2 separate regions of the Homo sapiens genome follow, and region 1 is linked to region 2. The links are contacts of gene promoters, found by promoter capture Hi-C in human tissues and cell types (Jung and others, 2019). All regions are on one chromosome and are shown on one strand. Each heading gives the region's core, a stretch centred on a gene start or on the middle of the fragment in contact. The rest is flanking DNA. Distances are from core to core; before and after follow the strand shown. Region 1 holds the start of SLC22A7 (solute carrier family 22 member 7). Region 2 holds the start of DNPH1 (2'-deoxynucleoside 5'-phosphate N-hydrolase 1).

The links. The method cuts DNA at HindIII sites, captures the fragments that hold promoters and counts their contacts. A contact is called where the count stands out against the background at its distance.
Region 1: the fragment with the promoter of SLC22A7 here is called in contact with the fragment with the promoter of DNPH1 in region 2 in 3 of the 25 tissues and cell types used here (IMR-90 fibroblasts, adrenal gland and stomach).

What each region holds. Positions count from the first base shown.
Region 1 is chr6:43,296,747-43,300,829 of GRCh38, reverse strand. It overlaps SLC22A7 (solute carrier family 22 member 7), which reads right to left and starts at 2,570. Exons shown (of 11, transcript NM_153320.2): 1 at 2,079-2,570; 2 at 1,733-1,738; 3 at 1,337-1,440; 4 at 1,049-1,203; 5 at 764-932. The coding sequence starts at 2,471. LOC124901319 (a long non-coding RNA gene) reads left to right here. Exons shown (of 2, transcript XR_007059582.1): 2 at 1,014-1,888. The HindIII fragment of the contact is 32,193 bases long and covers 1-4,083 here.
Region 2 is chr6:43,226,924-43,231,322 of GRCh38, reverse strand. DNPH1 (2'-deoxynucleoside 5'-phosphate N-hydrolase 1) reads left to right here and starts at 1,842. Exons shown (of 4, transcript NM_006443.3): 1 at 1,842-2,062. The coding sequence starts at 1,867. RefSeq lists silencers at 1,544-1,983, 2,044-2,233 and an enhancer at 1,561-2,060. The HindIII fragment of the contact is 36,780 bases long and covers 1-4,399 here.

The DNA of each region.
Region 1 (4,083 bases), core at 1,321-3,820, 69 kb before region 2:
CCCTGTCTCTACAAAAAATCAAAAAATAAATATTAGCTGGGTGTGGTGGCACACGCCTGTAGTCCCAGCTACTCAGGAGGCTAATGCAGGAGAACCACTTGAGCCTGGGAGGTTGAGGCTTCAGTGAGCTGTGATTGTGCCACTGTACTCCAGCGACAGAGCAAGACCTTATCTCAAAAATAATAAAAATAAAAATAAAACACCTCTTCCCACACTTCCTTGCCCAGGCCCAGGTCCTCCATAGCCTGGGAGTCCCTTATTCAACTGAATTGTCCTTACCCTCAAGACCAGCTCCCAGCACCAGCCACTCACTTCTCCCATGGGTGGCAGGAGGGAATGAGATGAAGGAGGGACAGACATGTAGACATATCCAGAAGGGTCATCCAAGGCCAAGTCATCTTTAGGAGGCAATGTAGTGCCCACCCTGCCTGTCCTCCCACTCTCCGGCCTGAGCTCCCCACCCCCATGCTGGCCCTGCCCCTATCCCCAACTCTCCAAGGGGCCAGCCTCAATTTATGTTTGGCTCTGTCTTTATCTCTGACTCTCTGTATCTTGTTCTCTGTTTCTCACTTTTCCTTGCCATCTTCTTTCTGTTGATCTCTGTCTCTCTGTCTCTTTTTCTCTGTGTCTCTTTCTGTCTCTTGGTCACTTCGTTTCTCTTTCCCTTCATCTCTCAATCTCTCTATCCTCAAATCTCAGGCTCTGATTAATCTCATCTTTCACTTCCTGTATCTCCCGCTCCCCAGCTGCCTGCAGTCCTCACCAGAGGCTGAGGATGCCTGGGGCACAAGGCAGGGTGACAGCTAGCAGAAGCCATCGCCAGTCCCGTATCAGGTACCCAACCAGTGCCAGCAGCATCACGCCCCCTGTCCAGAAGGTGCTGCTCAGGACTCCAGCCACGGTGCGGTGCTCCACATCCAGCCACTCCAGCTCTGGGCCAGGACAGGAGACAGGAAGATGGTTAGTGAGGACCAGATGGGCTCAGCCTCACTCTGACAACTGCCTTCTTCCAGCCCTCTAGGTCCTGCCTGTTTCTTGCCTGCCTCACCCAGTGGCATCACGATGATGGTAAAACCAGCCAGGGCTGAGCCAGTAAGGGTGCGGGTGATGGCAAACATTACATAGCTGACGGAGGCTGCAGATGCCAGGCCCAGCACCAGGGTACTCACGTAGGCTACCAGCAGCAGACGCCGCCGCCCAAACCTGCAAAGGGGTCATGCAGGGTCAGTTCCCTGTGGAAGGAGGTTCTAAGGCATAGGTAGACTAGGCTCATACCCCAGCTAGTGGGAGAAAGTTCCCCCAGCCAGTTTCTTATTGGCCCAGTGCCTCACCCCACCTGTCGGACAGATATCCAAAGGCCACAGCCCCCACCAGCACACCGGCGAAGAAGAAAGTGGACGCAGCTCTGTTCAGACCTTTCTGCTCACACACCAGATCCCACTGCAAGGACAGGCAGAAAGGGACCTCCTATGAACATCAGCCCCTCTCCAGCAGGCACCAGCTCCTCCTCTCCAGACCCTGGAGCCTTCTGAGGCGAACTCTGCCATTCTGGTACCTCCATGCCAGATAATAAACCTCCCAACGATTCACGCCAGCTTGGGGAATAGGAAACTTTGTCCCTCCCCAGTCCTGCAGCCTCAGCTTCTTCCCAAGGAAGGCCTCGACCTGCTGCCTCCCAGGGAGACTGCCTCCACCGACATTCCACCTCCAGATGGATTATGTAAATACCGACCTGGGACTGGAAAAGAGGAAGGGAGAAAAGAAGGCCTCTATTGTTTCTCCACCTCTTGCTGCAGAAATTGCCTTCTCAGCTCTTTGTCTCAACTCCCTGAAGCCACTTTAGCCCTTCCCTGCCTTAATCACCTCCCAATTAATGATGATGATAACAGTTCTTGTGTAGGATCCTGTTACTACAAGCCATGAACTAAAAGTGCCTTATATTCATAGCCCCCATCTACAGATTGGTAAACTGAGACTTTAAGAGGTAAAGTAATACATCTAATGCCTACACAGTAACCACCCAAGGCAATGGCAGGCCCATCCCTCTCACATGTCTCTCAACTTCTGGGCTTAAGTACCTCAGTTGCAATGGTAGAGGAGAATTCTGAGTGGTCGTACTCCCAGCCCTGAGAGCAGGGCACTGTGGCAGGTTCATCCTCCAGCTCCCCACGGCTCTGCCTTTCTTCCCCCAACGTGGTGTTGGGGAGAGCCTGGGGATAGGCAAAGCGGAGGCAGGAGCTGAGCGTGCCATCAGGCTCCCGGGGAAGATGGGCCTCCAGCCACACATCCTGATGGCTGAAGTTGGCAGGGGCACCCGGCAGGGCACATCGGTGGGCAGGCACGGCAGCCAGGAAGATGGGCAGGAGGAAGTGCAGTGGTAGCAGCACTCGGGGCAGGGCCAGCAGTGCCACATTCCGCAGTTGGAAGGGCCCAAAGCCGCCCACCTGCTCCAGCAGCTCCTCAAAGCCCATGCTGCTCACCCACCAAATGCTTCAGGTGCAGCCTCCCTCTAGTATCCAGCCAGCTCAAACTGCCCACCACATAGACCCTTGGACTCTGGAGGTGGGAGTGGATGGACTGGAGAGCCTGCAGCCAGAATCCAGCCCTCAGGGGCTGGCCCAGGACTGGGCCCTCCCCAGCCATCAGGTCTCCAGGGACCTCTACCTGTCTTGCCTGGTGCCTGGGGGAAGGGGAAGCCATCCATTCAGAGGTCACTGGCTCGTGGCTCTGGGGCTTACCCATTAGTGTTCAGGGACCAAGGCTACCATGATGAGGTAGCTGGGTGATGGCATAGGAGGTGAGCCCCTAGCCCCTTGGTCAGCAGAGCTCCCAGGATCCCTAAGAAGAGGAGGCCCCTGGGGCCTGGGGCCAGCTCTCCCAGGGTGCCCTTTGTCCTGTGAGACCTTAGGTCAGCCTTGCCTATTTGCAGCTACAGCCATGGCCTGGCCGACAGCCCAGGATTCAGGACTGAAAGCTGGATCCTAACCAGGTTTCTTTCTGCTGAGCCATGAGGCCTCCTCGCATCCCTCTCCCCTGCTGGGAGCTGATGCCCTGGCCTAAGACACACCTGTGATCACACCGGGCAACTTGATGTCTCTGAGGATCCCAGGCTCATCCCATTCCCACTTCACTCAGGGACTCTCCCCATACATATGGTTCCAACTGCCTGTCCCATTCCCCTATTTCCAGCAGCTTCCTAAATTACCTTTTGGAGGGATAGGGAATGGCGGGGGACATGTTGCCAAGGTACCTGCAATGCCTAAGATTACCTTTTGGAGGGGTAGGGAATGGGGGAGGGGGAGTTACCAAGGTCTTGTCAAAGGTACATGCAATACCTAAGACTCAAATGTTCAATCTGACCCTCCCACTCAATTCTCAATCATGGTCCCTGCAGCAAAAGTACAGCAGAAACCAGCAATGTCTGGTTTATTCTCATCTGATTCTCCAAACACTTAGCTGGCAGACCCACTGGTTTAATCCAGCTCCTACTTTGAACAGGTCAGAAAACTAAAGACAGGGAGGGGACCTGCTGGGGTCACACAATGACTCAGCAGCAGAGCTGAAGAAAAGACCAGGTCCCCTGACTCCAGACCAGGAATCTCACTTTTGACCTAAGCTGCTGAGCTGGTGATGTCCCAGTCTGCTCCAGGCTGGGATCCCTGAGAAAGCGCTGGGAAAGGAGCTAAATCGATGGCATGGCGTGTGTTAATGGGGGTGCTGACAGCCATGGAGTGAAGCAAGAGGCAGCTAATGGTGGTGGCAGTGACAGGGGGTGACAATGAGAAGAAATGTTTGAGTCTCTAGTGCATCCTCGCCATTCTAGAGGGTACATAGATGCCTCAGACACGGTCCCTACCCTTAGGGAGCTTACAGGAGGGTTAAAATAAGCTAACCCTCCCTGTCTCCAGTCTCACCCCTTTCAACCCATTCTCCATACACTGGCCACAGTGAACATTTAAACACAAATCTAAGAGGGTCACATCCCTGTTTAAAACCCTTCACCAGCTTCTGCTGCCTGAGGGGGAAAGTCTAGCTCCTTAGCTTGGCCCTTATGACTTCCCTAGGACTAGATCCTCTCCCCCA
Region 2 (4,399 bases), core at 593-3,092:
TTGAGCAGAGGAGGGTCATGACCTAGATCACTCAAGCTGCTGAGTGGAGAGCAAACTGTAGCAGGGAAGGGCCAGGGGAGGTGTATAGAGAACCCTTGACATAAGTAATTCCATCTTAGAAAGACTCCATCACTGGGCACATTCGCTTATGCCTGTAATCCCAGCGCTTTGGGAGGCTGAGGTAGGGGGATTGCTTGGGTCTAGGAGTTTTGAGACCAGCCGTGGAAACATAGTGAGACCTCGTCTCTACAATTTTTTTTTTTTTGAGATGGAGTTTCACTCTGTTGCCTAGGCTGGAGTGCAGTGGCGTGATCTTGGCTCACTGCAACCTCTGCCTCCCGGGTTCAAGCGATTCTCCAGCCTCAGCCTCTGGAGTAGCTGGGACTACAGGAGTGTGCCACCACGCCTGGCTAACTTTTTGTATTTTTAGTAGAGACGGGGTTTCACCGCGTTAGCCAGGATGGTCTCGATCTCCTGACCTCGTGATCTGCCCACCTCGGCCTCCCAAAGTGCTGGGATTACAGACATGAGCCACCGAGCCCAGCCAATTTTTTTTTTATTAGCTCAGCATGGTGGCACGTGCCTGTAGTCCTAGCTACTCAGGAAGCTGAGGTGGGAGGATTCCTTGAACCCTCAAACTTGAGGCACGAGTTTGAGGCTGCAGTGAGCAATGATCGTGCCTCTGCACTCCAGTGTGGGCGACAGGGACCTTGTCACCAAAAATAATAAATAAATAAATAAATAAAGTTTTAAAAAACTTCATCTTACATTTCAAAAGGCATCAAGCCAACAGGGTCCAGATGTTCGCCTAACCAATGGAGACAACACCCAACCAGATAAGGGCATCACCCTTTACTATAAGTCCTCATCAGAGGACTCAAGGACCATAAAATGATCAGGACTTCAGCAGCTAGACACGGCCACCTTAACAGACCGAGTCTTGCTATCACTCGTGCCCAGCACCTGGTGTCTGCCTCTGAAGGCTCTGCCCAAATCAAGGACTCTTCCTTGCAAGCTCTTGATGACTATCCCCATCAGGCCGGGACTCTGTCCACAGCACTCTCCTTGGACTGGTTCGTTAACCCCTTTTCTCTTGATGTTAAATGTTCTTGTGTTTGATGTGAAATTTTAACCTGTAACATTTATATCCTTACATATAATACTATGGATGGTTTGCAATACAGTCTGACTTGTGGAGTGGCTCCAGCTTGCATGCCCGCGGCTCTGACTACCGAGTGAACAGGTGGTCCTAAGGAGAACTGACTTCTTGGGAACTCCGTGTGACGCCTAGCTTTTGTGATTGAAATAGCATCAGTAAAAACCTGATCTTGTGGACAGACACAAAGGTGGGTGGACCTGGTTCTGTCTGACCTTGAGCAGCTCACGACATGTGGACACCTGTTAGGAGGCTGTGGAGAGCCCAGAGGAGGCTTAGACCAGGGTGGTGGCCCTGTAGGCGGTCGTGAGATTTCAGATTTGGAAGGACGAATCCACACGAGTTGTCAATGGATGGGACGCAGAGTTTGAGAGAAAGGGAACGATCCAGATGACTCCGAGGGTCTTGGGCCTGAGCAGCTGGGAGGATGCAGCTGGGGAAGACGGCGGGGAGGAGGGGAGCAGAAGCGGGTGAGGTGGGGAAGCCCTCGAGTTCTGCCTGGACAAGGTCAAGTTAAGGTGCGTGTTAGGCATCCGAACGTCAAGTCCAGGAAGGGTGTGTTCCCGAAAGGGTCCCGGCTGGATCCTCCCAGTTCGTCGTCCCCATTCCACAGGTGTGGACTCAGCAGCCGGGCTCTGCGCTGGGCCGGGCGGGGTCACGTGGCCGCGGGCTGGCGCCCCCTGGCGCCGGAGAGCGCGGGCGGCTGGGGAATGGCTGCTGCCATGGTGCCGGGGCGCAGCGAGAGCTGGGAGCGCGGGGAGCCTGGCCGCCCGGCCCTGTACTTCTGCGGGAGCATTCGCGGCGGACGCGAGGACAGGACGCTGTACGAGCGGATCGTGTCTCGGCTGCGGCGATTCGGGACAGTGCTCACCGAGCACGTGGCGGCCGCCGAGCTGGGCGCGCGCGGTGAGGCCCTGGGGCCGCGGGACGCGGGGACGCGGGCGCGGACCTGGCTGGGGTGGCAGGGACCCGGCCTGTCCGCCCCCCCGACCCCCGGCAGCTGCGCTCCCGGCGCCCGGAGCCCGCCCTCCTACCCCGGTGCTCCATCCAGCGCCCCAGCCCGAGAAGGAAACGGGCCGGGGCTCGGGCTGCGTGGGTCCCAGCAAGCCTGCGGGTGTAAGGCAGACTCAGCATTATCTTGACCTTTGGTTCCTTCTTGGAGAACTCTGTCTTCAGCTGCTTTCAGAGCGTTTGTAGGGTGCAACAGAAAGAAGGTAGATTGGGCTGCTTTGCTTGGGCTCAGTTCCCACCTCACCCGCTGGAATCTTTTCCACCACCCAACACGAAAGGTATCCTCCTGCCTCCCCACCAACTTTTTTTGTTTTGTTTTGTTTTGTTTTTGAAACGGAATCTCACTCTGTCGCCCAGGCTGGAGTGCAGTTGCGTGATCTCGGCTCACTGCAACCTCGACCTCCCGGGTTCAAGTGATTCTCTTGCCTCAGCCTCCCGAGTAGCTGGGACTACAGGCACGCGTCACCACACCCGGCTACTTTTTGTATTTTTAGTAGAGACGGTGTTTCACCATATTGGTCAGGCTGGTTTCGAACTCCTGACCTCAGGTGATCTGCCCGCCTCGGCCTCCCAAAGTGCTGGGATTACAGACAGGAGCCACCGCCCAGGGCCTGCCTCCCCTTTTTCTGTGAAGACATCAGCACTCTTTTAGACCTGGCTGACCCCAGTTCTCACTATTACCCTCTCTCACATTTTTGTTTTGTTGATACAAGGGCCTCTCTGTCGCCCAGGCTGGAGTGCAGTGGTGCGATCATAGCTCACTGCAGCCTCGGCTTCCTAAACTCATGATCCTCCAGCCTCAGCCTCCTATTAGCAAGGACTGCAGGGGCACGACACCATGCCTGGCTCAAAATTTTTCTGTAGAGATTGGGAGTCTCACTATGTTGCCCAGTCTGGTCCCGACCTCCTAGCCTCAAGTGATCCTCCCGCCTCAGGCCTCCCGAAGTGCTGGGACTATAGATGTGAGCCCCCATGCTGGCCTCATATTCTCTTTCAGGCCATTATTGTGTTCTGCTCCTGGCTGCTGGGTTTTTCTTTCTCTTTCTATTTATTTAGTTATTTATTTGGAAACAGTCTTGTTCTATTACCCATGCTGGAGTGCAGTGGCAAAATCTCAGCTCACTGCTAACCTCTGCCTCCCGGGCTTGAGCAATCCTCCCACCTCAGCCTCCCAAGTAGCTGGGACTACAGGTGTGTGCCGCCATACCTGGTTAAGTTTTGTATTTTTTATAGGGACGGGATTTTGCCATGTTGGCCAGGCTGGTCTTGAACTCCTGAGCCCAAGTGATCTGCCTGCCTCAGCCTCCCAAAGTGTTGGGATTACAGACATGAGCCGCTGAGTCTGGCTGGATTTCTCTAAAGCATATTTGATGTGCTGGTCTGGAATCTTGCAGATCCTTCCAGTTTGAAAATTGTATCTTGAATGCTTGTGCTTCTGCTCAGAAAACCTTAAGTGGTTTCCACTTATCCTACCCAAGAGCAGACCCACAATTTGTGGGACCTCATGCAATTCTGGGAGACCTCTTTAAAAAGACAAAAATCACAATACAAAGTTGCTGATGGTTTGGAAAGGGCCTGTGCAAGTGGAGGACCCTGAAGCTTACAGCTCATTAGTTCATGGTATATCCAGACTGCCTGGTGGCTCTCCAGGTCTTTAGTGTCATCTGAGGGAGCCTGTTAAAAATGCAGGTTCTGATCATCTGGGATAAAGCCTTCGAATATGTACTTTTTTTTTTCCCCCAAGACAGAGTCTTGCTCTGTCGCCCAGGGTGGAGTGCAGTGGAGTGATCTCCGCTCATTGCAACCTCCTCCTCCCAGGTTCAAGCAATTTTCCTGCCTCAGCCTCCCGAGTAGCTGGGATTACAGGCGCCTGCTACCACGCCTGGCTAATTTTTTAATTTTTAGTGGAGATGGGGTTCCACCATGTTGGCCAGACTGGTCTCAAACTCCTGACCTCGTGATCCTACCGCCTTGGCCTCCCAAAGTGCTGGGATTACAGGCGTGAGCCACCGCGCCTGGCCCGAATCTGTACTTTTTCTTGTTTTTTTTAAGATGGAGTTTTGCTCTGTTGCCCAGGCTGGAGTGCAGTGGTGCGATCTCAGCTCACTGCAACTTCCGCCTCCTGGGTTCAAGTGATTCTCCTGCTTCAGCCTCCCAAGTTGCTGGGATTACAGGTGTGCACCACCACACCCAGCTAATTTTTGTATTTTTAGTAAAGATGGGGTTTCACCA